Regions from separate parts of the Homo sapiens genome. Here all the other regions are linked to region 3. The links are contacts of gene promoters, found by promoter capture Hi-C in blood cells and fetal thymus (Javierre and others, 2016). All regions are on one chromosome and are shown on one strand. The core of a region is centred on a gene start or on the middle of the fragment in contact, and the rest is flanking DNA. Distances in the headings are between cores, read along the strand shown.

Region 1 (4,188 bases), core at 43-2,542, 220 kb after region 3:
ACTTTTCCATTAAAATTTGTTATTATAAGGTCATTTTAGTTTCACATGTAGTTTTAAGAAATAATACTAAGAGGTTCTTGGTACAGTTTACTAGTTTCTCACAATGGTAACATTTTGCAAAACTTTAGTACAATATCACAAACAGCAATTGACATTGATAAAATTCACAATCTTATTCCAATTTCCCCAGTTTTACTTTCACTTATTTGTGTGTGTGAATTTATTTCTGTATAATTTTATCACATGTGAAGGTTTATCCACCACTGTAGCAAAGATAATAAACAGTTCCATCACCAAAAGGACCTCTTATGTTGCCCTTTTATAGCAACCACTTCCTTTCCACTGCTTATCCTTTATCGCTGGCAACCACCAATCTGTTTCCTTTCCTAACATTTTATTATCTCAACAATGTTTTATAAGTGGATCATACAACTTGTAATATTATAGTATTACCTTTTATTACTCAGCATGGTTTCTTTGAGATTATCAAAATTGTTATGTATATCAATAGTTTACTTCTTTTTATTTCAAGTAGCATACGATGCTATGTATGTTTCACAGTTCATTTAACCATTCACCTATTGAAGGACTTCTGGGATGCTTTCACTTTTTGAAAATTATGAAGAAAGCTTCTATCTACGAGCTTTCATGTACAAGTTTGTAATATATATGTGTATATATACAAATGACATATATGTGTATATATACAAATGACATATATGTGTATATATACAAATGACATATATGTGTATATATACAAATGACATATATGTGTATATATACATATGACATATATGTGTATATATACATGACATATATGTGTATATATACATATGACATATATGTTTATATACCCATATATACATATGTGTATATATACATATATACATCTATGGCATATATGTGCATACATATATGGCATATATGTGCATACATATATGTACATATACATATATGGGACATGTATGCACATATACCTATCTGGGGCATGTATGTGTATACATGTATACATGTATGGGACATTTATGTATGCACGTGTATACATATATGTATGCACATATATGGCATATATGTATATATAGCTATATGGGACATATATGTATATATAGATATATGGGACATATTGTATATATAGATATATGGGACATATTGCATATATATGTATATACATATATGCATATATGAAATATATATGTATATATATGTATCTTCATTCCTGTGGGATTAACACCCAAGAGTAGAAGTGTCGGATTGTATAATAATTGCATGTTGAGTTTTATAAGAACCTGATGAACCTGTTTTCCAGAGGCACCGTACCATTTTACATTCCCACTAGCAATGCATAAGCAATCCAGTTTTTCTTTATCCTGATTTAAAAAAAAAAATAGTCATTCTGATAGCCCGTGACAGTTTAAATTTACATTTATTTAATGGCTAGTCATTTTGAACATATTTTCATGTGTTTATTTGCCATGTGTATATCCTCTCTAGTGAAATATCTATCCATGTCTTATGATCCTTTTAAAATTGGATGTTTATCTTTTTTTTGCAGATTCTTTGGGAATTTCTACATAGACAAAATGTCATCTGCAACTAGAGATTGTTTTCTTTCTTCTTTTCCGATCTCTATACCTTTTATTATTTTTCCTTCTCTTATTATAGAAGCTAGAACTTCCAGTACCTTTTTATTGAGTAAGAAAGATGAAAATGGACATTCTTACCTTGTTCCCTACTATTTGGAAAAGCATTTAGTCTTTATTAAGTCTGATGTTACCTGTAGATTTTTTGTAGATGGTCTTCAGCAGGTTAAGATAATTTGTCTATTTTTGACTTACTGAAAATTTTAAATAAAATGATTATAAATAAGAGCTGAATTTCGACAAATGCTTTTGCTGCATCTTTTCCCTGTTAACATAGTTGATTCTATTAATTTTCAAATATTGAACTAAGCTTGCATACCTGGAGTAAATGTCCTTTGTTGTGTTATCCCATACTTTTTATACATTGTTAGATTTGTTTTCATATTTTGTTAAAGATTTTATATCTAGGCTCATAAGAGTCACTGGTCATAAGAAATAGTGTAATTTTTTTTGTGTGTACTGTTTTTATATTTTCTTTGTTGTATTAATTGACGTCAGGGGTTCAACACCAGCCTGGCCAATATGGTGAAACCCCGTATCTACTAAAAATACAAAAATTAGCCAGGCAGGATTGCAGGTTCCTGTAATTCCAGCTACTCAGGAGGTTGAGATGGGAGAATCGCTTGAACCCGGGAGGTGGAGGTTGCAGTGAGCTGAGATCGTGCCATTGCCCTCCAGCCTGGGCTACTGAGCGAACTCTGTCTCAAAAACAAAACAAAACAAAACAAAAATTAACCTCATAAGATATTGTATAAAATCCACATTAATATTTTCTTTAAAAGTTTGGTCAATTCTTTAGTGAACCATTTTGGACTGAAAATGTCTCTGTCAGAGGCTTTAATTTATAAATTAAATTTCCTTAGTGGTTATGGGAATATTCATATTACCTCTTTCATCTTCGTTGAGTTTAGGTAGTTTACAATTTTTAAGAAATTGGTCTATTCTTTTTTCTAAGTTGTTGAATTTATGAGCATAAAGTTGGTTGTATTGTCTTTTCAATAGCTGAAGGATCAGTAGTGATAGGCCCAATTGGCATGGGAGAGGAGTATCAGGTTTCTGGAGAAAAGAGGTTTCCTTGACCTCTCACTGTGCCTATTTTGGGATAATCATATTTGCTGGTGGTCTTTGGCTACTTTGGGGTCTCCCATGGCAGGGGTCCCCAATCCCCTGGCCACAGACGATTATGGTTCCTGATCTCGCCTCTTGTCAGATCAGCGATGGCGTGAGATTCTCATAGGAGTGTGAGCCCTACTGTGAACTGTGCATGCGAGGGATCTAGATTGTGCACTCCAGTGAGAATCTAATGCCTGATAATCTGTCACTGTCTCCCATCATGCCCAGATGGGACTGTCTGGTTGCAGGAAAACAAGCTCAGGGCTCCCACTGATTCTACATCATGGTGAGTTGTAAATAAATAAATAAATATATATATATATATATATATATATATATATATATATATATATATAATAGAAATAAAGTGCACAATAAATGTAATGCACTTGAATCCTCCCTTAACCTCCTCCACCTGTGGAAAAATTGTCTTCCCCAAAACTGGTCCCTGGTGCCAAAAAGGTTAAGGACTGCTGTTCTAGGGGCTGGGGGATAGAGACTTTCCAGAAATATTACTCCTTTTGGTAGAGTCCCTCTTGCTGGCTCTGCTCAGCAGTAGGGTTAGCAGGTTTAGATGGATTGGAGGGTCTCAGGCCTGACAAGAGTGTAGAGTGCTTCCCTTGCCTTCTAATTGTTAGTGAGATCATTTTGCTCTTGCTCTTATAGTAATGCAGTATGGTTTGACCTGTGGGAGGGTAAGCCTAGCTGGTCTGTGTTTGTTGGTATGTTGGGAATTTAAAAAGATTGGGTCTGTTTCTCCTTCTTGAGTCAAGTGGGGGACTAGGATACCCCATCACTGTGTTGTTCATCCAGTTTTGGGTTCCCAAACTAGGTTGCATTCTTCCTACCACATTTAAACGTTCCTCTGTGGTTTCACTTTTATAGTTGTCCAGGTTTTATATTTGTGCTTAGTAGAGTGGAGTGAGAAGAAATGGTCCATACTGTTCTAGTCCTTGCCTTGTCTATCTGGTATCTTTCAGGATGTTTTATGGTTTTCTTCACATGGATTCAGATCAATTTTTGGTAAGTTGGGTTTTAACTATTCATTACATTTTATGGCTACCATTTGTTATATGAATGCTACTGACTTTTGCATCTTAACTTTATATCCTGCTACCATGTTGAATTATTTTATTGTTGATATTCATTTTATCATTGATTATGGTTTTTCATGTATAATATCATGTATTTTTCTAACAGGGTACACACAGGGAAGCCTGCCACCTAACAGCAAGAATTCCTGTTATACGGAGTCATGGGCTTTTCACAGCTCATGTGCTCTGTATTTATTCTAGTTGTCATTTGCAGCATCTTCACAGCCCTCAAATAGAGAGTGAACAATTCCTATGTGTACATCCTCCCATGGGAGAGGACCATAGTCAATGAATTCTTGATCTGGAGGCCACATTTGTATGGAAAGAGGAGGTGCCCTAGC
Region 2 (4,100 bases), core at 201-2,700, 180 kb after region 3:
ACTTTAATTATTTCTACATGAATAACAGATGTCAAGTGAAGAAGTATAGGAAAAGAGATGGGCACGGTGGCTTACGCTGTAATCCCAACACTTTTGGAGGCTGAGACCAACGGATTGCTTGAGGTCAGGAATTCAAGACCAGCCTGGCCAACATGGTGGAACTCCGTCTCTACTAAAAACACAAACAAATAGCTGGGCGTGGTTGCATACACCTGTAATCCCAGCTACTTGGGAAGCCGAGACATGATAATTGCTTGAGCCAAGATCACGCCCCTGCACTCCAGCCTGGATGACAGAGAGAGATTCCGTCTCAAAATTTTAAAAAAAAAAAGTGCAAAAATTGTAGGAAAATAGTTGCTTTCTATTTCTATTAAAACTGACTGCTTGAGATTATCAGTAGCAAGACTCCATGACATTTTTATCCCAAAATAGAGATAATTTTAAACAGCTAGTGGATGGCAGAACAACAACAACAAAAAAAGTTACTTCCCATCTTCAACTTTAGTCATCTTTTCATTACCCCACTGCTTCTAACATTCCACAGGACTTTACTCAGAGCGGATTTAATGTCCTTGTTCTTCAGACAGTAGATAACAGGGTTCAAGGTTGGAGGTGCGACAGAATAGAACACAGACACCAGCAAGTCTAGAATAGAAGGTGCATCAGACCCTGGCTTTAAATAAGCAACAGCACCTGTTACAAGAAACACAGTGACAACAATGAGGTGAGGCACACAGTTGGAAAAGGCTTTGGATTGTCTCTGTCTCTGTGATATCCTTAACACAGCAGAGAAAATGTACACATAGGAAACTACAATGCAAACTAAACATGAAAATGCATAACAGACCCCAATGGCCACACTGACACTAATGATGGCATGTTCTTTAGAACAAGTGAGCTTTAGTAGGGCAGGGACATCGCAGAAGAACTGATGTAGCTCATCAGAGCCATAAAAATTCAGAGAGAATGTTCCAGCTGTGTACAAGAGTCCCAAGGCCCCTCTGTTGAGCCAGGACAGAGCCATCAACTGGACACAGAGCCCTCTGCTCATGACAGCCTCACAGTGTAGGGGGCAGCAGATGGCAGCATAGCGGTCATAGGACATGGCAGTAAGGATGCCAATCTCTGATCCAGCCAGCAGTACCACCAAGAAGAGCTGCAACACACACCCCAGGAAGGAGATGGAGTCAGTGGAGGCGACAGAGTTGAGGATGGATTTGGGGACTGTGGCAGAAATGAGACACAGGTCTAAGAAGGACAAATGTCGGAGGAAAAAGTACATTGCCATGTGGAGACGATGGTCCAGAATCATGAGGAGAATGATGACTAAATTCATCAGCACAGCCGTGAGGTAGATCAGTGAGAAGAGCAAAGCATGCAGCCTCAGGAGCACCCAATTCTCAGTAAATCTCACAAGCAAGAATTCCATCATCTGTGTCTGATTGGTCATAGTTCAAAATTATAAGCGCCCTATGGAGTAAAGGAAAATAAGTGTCATACTAATATTAAAAAGTATCATTTGTTTCTTCATTTGTTGAATGAAGGTATGTGTAGCATCAAGGCCTAGACAAAAAGTTTAAAAATATCAAGCAATTTATATTTCTCATGGACTCAGGTGTAAAACAACTGTGGGTATATCAGTCTAACACTTAGTAGTCCTGGACTAAGATTTATTGTGAAAGAAGCAAAGAACTTCACTTCTCTCCCTCATTACTTGAAATGACTTTTGAGTGATTTTATTTCCTTTGGGAATTACAGGGTTGGCTATGCAATTATATATAAAACTGCAATAGGGCATACATTTTCATGTATAAATATCCCGGTTAATGTAGTTTTGTGTGTATTAAATGTTGTGAATGAAATTTCTGCTTGCTACTTACTGCAATATTTAAAATAGTCATTATCCTCAGGTGATACTCTAATTTACTATCCCCTTCTCACTGAAGGATGTTAAGATTATTCTCCCATTTTTGCATTAAAGTTTACTCCTTTGGTGAAAATGTGATTATAGTATCATTTTTTTCTTTCTTTAGTCCATATACATAGCATAGCACAAAAATTAAAAAGTACTCGTTATTTTCACAAATCAGTTTTCAAATATATAGTGTCATTTTTCATGAAAAGAACAAAAACCTGAGACTTAGCCAGATGATTAACATAATATTCTAGGAAGGATTTAATTAAACACAGGAAGCGACAGACAGGGATATCTACTGCATCTAACCAGAGATGCAGTGTGTCCTCTTATGTGATAGACATTCAGAGATTGTCATCTGAGATCCCTCGCACACCCCAACGTGAGGGAGAGTTTTGGCCATGTTTTTCCCTCAGATCATCTTGTCTTTAGAACCTCTCTTGATTTTACTTTAGTATCACTTCAATGGCAATTTTTTCACTTTCCCCTTTGGTTTCCAGGCCATCTCTAAAACACACAGAACAGAAAACAGGATGGACGGTTTGCTAGTTTGGAAGTAGCTCTTAGGGTATGTAGACACTGCTCTAGGTTTTATTCTCCCCAGCAGGTCAAACAGAGGAGGCTTTAAGTTTGGGGCAGCCATGAACTTGCTCATGTTGAGCTATAAGTCAGGCTCTCCATTATTGCTCTAAAGCTACTGCCAGTGCTTTTTCCAACAAGAACACCCAAAGTTTGCAACATAGCATGAGATTTCCATTTGCTCTTGAGTCTTTTCAACTTAAAAAATATTTTATTTTTGTAGACACAAGAGAGTCTCACTTTGTTGTTCAGCAGTTTTTCAACTGAAAGAGAATGTAGCAGACCATTACAACATACATTCTCCTCCTTCTCTATACACACATATGCACACACACACAGCCGAGAGGATGAGCAAGAATAAACAGAGCTTTTCCAGGATGAGCAGTCGTACCTCTAACCTTCATAGAATATGTCCATTTCAGTACAAGTGATTTTCTGAGAACTAAATTAACAAGTGATTTAAAGTTGAAAAGGGACCAGGCATGGTGGCTCATGCCGGTAATCACAGCATTTTAGGAGGCTGAGGCCAGAGGATCTCTTAAGGCCAGGAATTCGAGACAAGCCTGGACAACAAGATGAGACCCCTCTATGTCTACAAAAATTAAATAAAATAATGTTTTAAGTTGAAAAGACTCATGAGCAAATGGAAATTTCTTACTATGTTGCAAACTTTGGGCTTTCTTGTTGGAGAAAGCACTGGCCCTAGCTTTAGAGCAATAATGGAGAGCCTGACTCATAACATGAGCTAATTCATGGAAGCCCCAAAAGTAAAGCCTCCTTTGTTTGACCTGCTGGGGAATAAAACCTGGAGCAGTGTCAAAATACCCCAAGAGCTACCTCCAAACTAGCAAACCATCCATCCTTGTTTCTGTTGCATTAGCCTGTGTGTTTTAGAGACAGCCAGGGTAGCTCAGTGAGTGAGTGAGTGTCCTTTTGAGTTCCTTCCACCCCAGTGATGTTTGACTCCAATGCTAGATTTTTATCCCTTCAGTCTCATTTTTGATTTATATTTCACCTTATTTCACATGCTTACATATGAAATGAGTGATAGCATTAGTTTAAAAGTCTGTGTGCTTTTCTTTACAGATAACATTAATAACAATAAAGCTTTGCCTCATTATATTTATATACTTATTTGGTCCAGGGAAATTCCACATGATTAAATAAAAATATGCAATCTGAGTCTCAATCAATCTAAAACTGGGAAAATACATATAATACACAAAATAATCCTAAAATCAAGGGGTATCTAAGAAGGCTGGGAAGATAGGGTAAGTTCAGGTTTATATGTTTCTTTACCATTTCTATATCATATTAACAACAAATTTTATCACTTTTGTCAAGAATATGAGGAATGGAGAGAATGAGAGAGCAAAGGGGAAGAGGAGAGGAGAGGAGAGGGGAGGGGAGGGGAGGGGAGGCCTATATGGAGTCTTCAGCTCCGGAAAATGTTTCCATTCTCGAGTAAGATCAACAGAAGCAACATTCATAACAAAGGCTATATGGAATCTTCAGCCCCGGAAAATGTTTCCATTCTCGAGTAAGATCAATAGAAGCAACATTCATAACAAAGGCCGGTGAGAATGCTTTCCCAAACAGTTCTATA
Region 3 (4,267 bases), core at 1,062-3,561:
TAAGCTGAAAGAAGGAAACAAGATTCAAGACCATACTATTTGTTTCCTTTGATGTGAAATTTTAGAATAGCCCAAACTAACGAACAGAGATAAAAATTAGAGCAGTGGATGTATCTTAGGCCTGGGGTATCACTGGAAAAGGGCCTGCAGGACCTTTCTGAGGTGGTGAAAATGGTGTCTCTTCCTAATGGGTGAATTACCAGGGTAGATATTTGTGGAAATTAGTTGAAAAGGAACATCTTAAATGCGAGCATTCTACTGTGTGTAAGCTACACCTCAATTTGAAACAAATGGCAACAACTTTCAAAACTGCTTGAATGGTTAATTCATTCTTTGAACAAAAAATTATTGTGAGGTATGATGTAAAACCATCTTACTAAGGATTAGTGAGTTCACCGATTTTTAACAATCCATGATTTGATTGGGTAATGATAGCTGAGTAAATGAACCCGAGGAATGAAGATTCATCTGCAATTCAAAGCAACACACAAACACACACACACACAGAGACAACAGATGTAGAAATAAAAGTGTATATTCCTTATTTCTAGGAAATTCCACACAAACACTTTGCACAGTTTTGAATGTTGGGGCAAATATATAGTCTTATTCACGACTTAAGGCCACACACCGACCCATACACCTTGTCAGGGCTCCCTTCACCTCACTGTTCTTCACACTGTAGATGAGGGGGTTTAGTAAAGGGGTGAACATAGTATAGAAGGCTGACACAACCTTGTCGTGGTTAGTGGACCTGTGGGATTTGGGTCTCATATAGGTAAAAATGGCAGCTCCATAAAAGAGTCCCACCACAGCCACATGTGAAGAGCAGGTGGCAAAGGCCTTCTTGCGGGCTTCTGTAGAGCGCATGTGCAGAACAGCAGCGAGGATGAGACCATAGGAGGACAGGATGAGGGAAAAGGGGACCAGGAGCATTAACACACAGCAGATGTACATGGCGTTTTCGAAGACTGAAGTGTCAGCACAAGCCAAACGCACCAGCACGGGGGTCTCGCAGAAGAAGTGATCGATCTCGTGTGCACCGCAATATGGGAAGCTCAGGGTAGCAACAGCCTGCAGGAGCCCGTCAGCTGCACCCAGGAGCCAACACGACAGGTTCATCCTCAGGCACAGCTGCCAGCTCATGAGAGTGGGATATCGGAGTGGGTGGCAGACAGCCGCATAGCGGTCATAGGCCATGGCTGCTAAGAGGAAGCACTCTCCACCACCCAGTGTGGGGAGGAAGAAGATCTGCGCACCACAGCCAGCGCGGGAGATGGCCTTACTTCCGGTCAAGTAGTCAGCCGCCATTTTGGGCACAGTGGTGGAAACCAGCATCACGTCCATGAGGGAAAGTTGGCTCAGGAGGAAGTACATGGGCGTGTGGAGCCGGTGGTCCCAGTGAATCAGGAGAATCATGAGGGAATTGCCAAACAGGGAGGTCAAAACGATACTCAGAACCATCATGAAGAGGACTTGGTGGGCTCTGGTGTGGTTAAAGAGTCCTAGGAGAATGAAATAAGAGGTATAGCTCCCATTTTCCATGATTTCAAATAAGAGTGACACTGCAAATGGAGAAAAAGAAGACAGAGTGTTTATCCTTTATGGTACTCCATTTGAGTTACGTAGTAAAAAAATAGAAAAGTACTTGTGTGAAAGCGATGAAACCTATGTCAAATCTTTCATTTGCCACTTGCAAAATGTTCTAATTTGTGCATAAAATTAATTAAACTTTTTCTCATTTCCAAGGATTTCATAATAAATGCTTCTCAGGCTAAGTATTGATTAATTTTATATCACAAATCCACGTTCTGGATAAGTTGCAAGTAACCTGTCAGAATGGTTTTGCTTTATCTGGTACCATCATAAGTGAGTGAGAATGAAATGATTCACATAATTTGTCACTTTATTTGTGCTTGAGTTACATCATGCATAGTCAATATTTTAGAAGCTGAATTAAGTCAGTATATTTCATTATATAAAACTACATCCTTGACTGTGAAGGTTGTGGGTCTATAACATATCAAAACTCATTGAAACCTACCAAAATCAGGCAGTTTTCCCTGACTTAATCCAAGAAGACTTTTTTTCCTTTCTAAAGAGGGTGACTTATATTCTCAGGTCTGGAAAGGCTGAGTCTGCAGATGAAAACATAGTTAATTTGGAGTTGTGAACACATTTAGTCCTCCTTTATAGGTGATAGACTGAAAACAGTACTGACCTTCTTGGATATTTTTTATTTCTTTGCAGTGTAAGAGTATAATGGTAAACACACATTTTCATTAACTGTACAAGGTACTTTGTTGCAATGAGACTTTTTCTCATCAGTCCACAAGTATAACCTTTACCAGGTAAAGGAGAAAAAAGAAAACTAAGATCTTTATCCAATCACAGAGATAAATTAATGTCTTCTTCAGTCTCAAGAGAAATGAAATCTTTATAGACATTTTCATCTTAGATCTGCTGGTGCAGGAAGTTTTCTACCTTGTTGAATAAATGTCGCCACACCTGCAGAGGTATTGATGCTGATTCAATCTCAAGGATATGGTCTAATTCAATAAAGTTATATGGCAGAAGGAGCCCATCTCTTCCATGCGCATTCCCTTTGCCTCCACTTTTTGTATCCACCCTAAACTAAAATGCCAGTCACGACTGGGAAAGGCAGTGCAGTTGCGTCAGTCAATACCAGAGTGCATTACTTGAGCATCATAATTGTACGGGCAGCACAATACCTGAGGGTTTTATTTGGTTGTTTAAAATTTAAACATCATGGAAATATACATATGTCCTTCTTGACAAATAAATTCTGCATTTGACAAAACTTTGTGATCTTCACACCTTCGTATCTCTAACATGCTCTATTTTTTTCTTTTTACTTCTTAGAAAATGCAATAACATGTACTTTCTACACGTAGGAACTATACAAAATCTCTAATTACAGCCCTTAGTGTCACTTTGCTGAAAGACCTCAAAACCCTCCTGACTCATTTCTTTCACTCGATATCTTCCATTTCTCCGTTTTCCCAACCTTCCTTAGTGTTGAAGCTTGATCAACTTTAAATATCTTTTAAAAAATCAGTCTGTAATGTCATAACTGTAGGGTGTTGGACAAGTTTCTTAAATTATTTTTTCTATCATATTAAATATTTTTAAGGCACAATCAGTACAGTGGCTTCAAGTATAATCATATTGTTGTATGACCATCCACAATATCCATCTATGAATCTCATTTCACCTCCCTAAATTGAAATTCTGTACCCACTGTGAAATAACTCCCCATTCTTCTCACACACAGCCCCCAGCAACCACCATTCTATTTTGTGTCTCTATAAATTTGAGTGTTTTAGAAACCTCATATAAATGGAATCATGTGGTATTGTGTGTGTGTGTGTGTGTGTGTGTGTGTGTGTGTGTCTGTGACTGGCTTATTTCACTTATCATAATGTCCTCAAGGTTCATCCCATGTGTCAGAATTTCCTTCCAAAGGGTGAATACTATTTCATTATCTGCATATATAACAGTTTGTTCAATTATCCAGTCATAGCCATTAACGTTGCTCCCACTCACTTCAGCTGTATGTTTAAGTATCATTTTAATGGAATGTTTCACGACAGATGTTAGTTTTTTTTATTTTGGTAAGGTAAACATATATAGCATAAAAATATAGCAATTGCAATTAATTAGCCGCTTAAATTGTGCCAGACTGGTTCATATGTTTTCAGAGAATAATCTCAACAACTTGCATGACTTTTCAGTTCAGGAAATACATTTTCTTATTATGAAGTTCCTACTATGGTTAAATAGTTTGTAAAATTTGATGTCATTAGCTTGTACCTTTTCAGTGAAAATAGATAATATTTCTATTCTTTATGTTTATGTGGAATAAAAATTCTTTATTTCCAGGTGTATAAAAATTATCAGTTTGTATCAGTCTAACTGGTCATCATGCCATAGCATTCAGATTATTTCACGAAATGATTAATTAAATGTGTTAAATAAAATTAGTAGATAACTGTATTTTTCTACGATGTGATAATATTAAATTATTTGCTTTATTGAAATTACTGTCTATATTTTTATGTTACAAAGCTAAGATAATTTGCCACTAATTAAAATGTTTATAAACCTACAAAAATGATTATTTGGGATAATTTTTTTTAAAAATTGGCCATGGATACAAAGAACAGTTAAATGAAAAATGAAGAATTAAATAATCTTGCTAATAAAATGTCTATAATTTCATTTAACAGAGGGTTGAAAATTCAAG

Evidence for each region. The method cuts DNA at HindIII sites, captures the fragments that hold promoters and counts their contacts. A CHiCAGO score of 5 or more calls a contact.
Region 1: a contact is called between a fragment that was not itself captured here and the fragment with the promoter of OR2T8 in region 3, in 1 of 17 cell types (megakaryocytes). The highest score is 7.1, in megakaryocytes.
Region 2: the fragment with the promoter of OR14K1 here is called in contact with the fragment with the promoter of OR2T8 in region 3 in 2 of 17 cell types (endothelial precursors and M2 macrophages); the score reaches 5.9 in endothelial precursors.

What each region holds. Positions count from the first base shown.
Region 1 is chr1:247,697,681-247,701,868 of GRCh38, reverse strand. No RefSeq gene overlaps it. Among named protein-coding and RNA genes, the nearest start is that of OR6F1, 17 kb to the left of the region's middle. The HindIII fragment of the contact is 1,321 bases long and covers 632-1,952 here.
Region 2 is chr1:247,735,965-247,740,064 of GRCh38, reverse strand. OR14K1 (olfactory receptor family 14 subfamily K member 1) reads right to left here and starts at 1,450. Exons shown (of 1, transcript NM_001004732.2): 1 at 506-1,450. The coding sequence starts at 1,450. The coding sequence ends at 506. The region is part of intron 1 of OR14A2 (olfactory receptor family 14 subfamily A member 2); the gene reads left to right. The HindIII fragment of the contact is 3,693 bases long and covers 1-3,603 here.
Region 3 is chr1:247,918,296-247,922,562 of GRCh38, reverse strand. OR2T8 (olfactory receptor family 2 subfamily T member 8) reads right to left here and starts at 2,311. Exons shown (of 2, transcript NM_001005522.2): 1 at 2,045-2,311; 2 at 1-1,565. The coding sequence starts at 1,545. The coding sequence ends at 607. The HindIII fragment of the contact is 5,046 bases long and covers 1-3,047 here.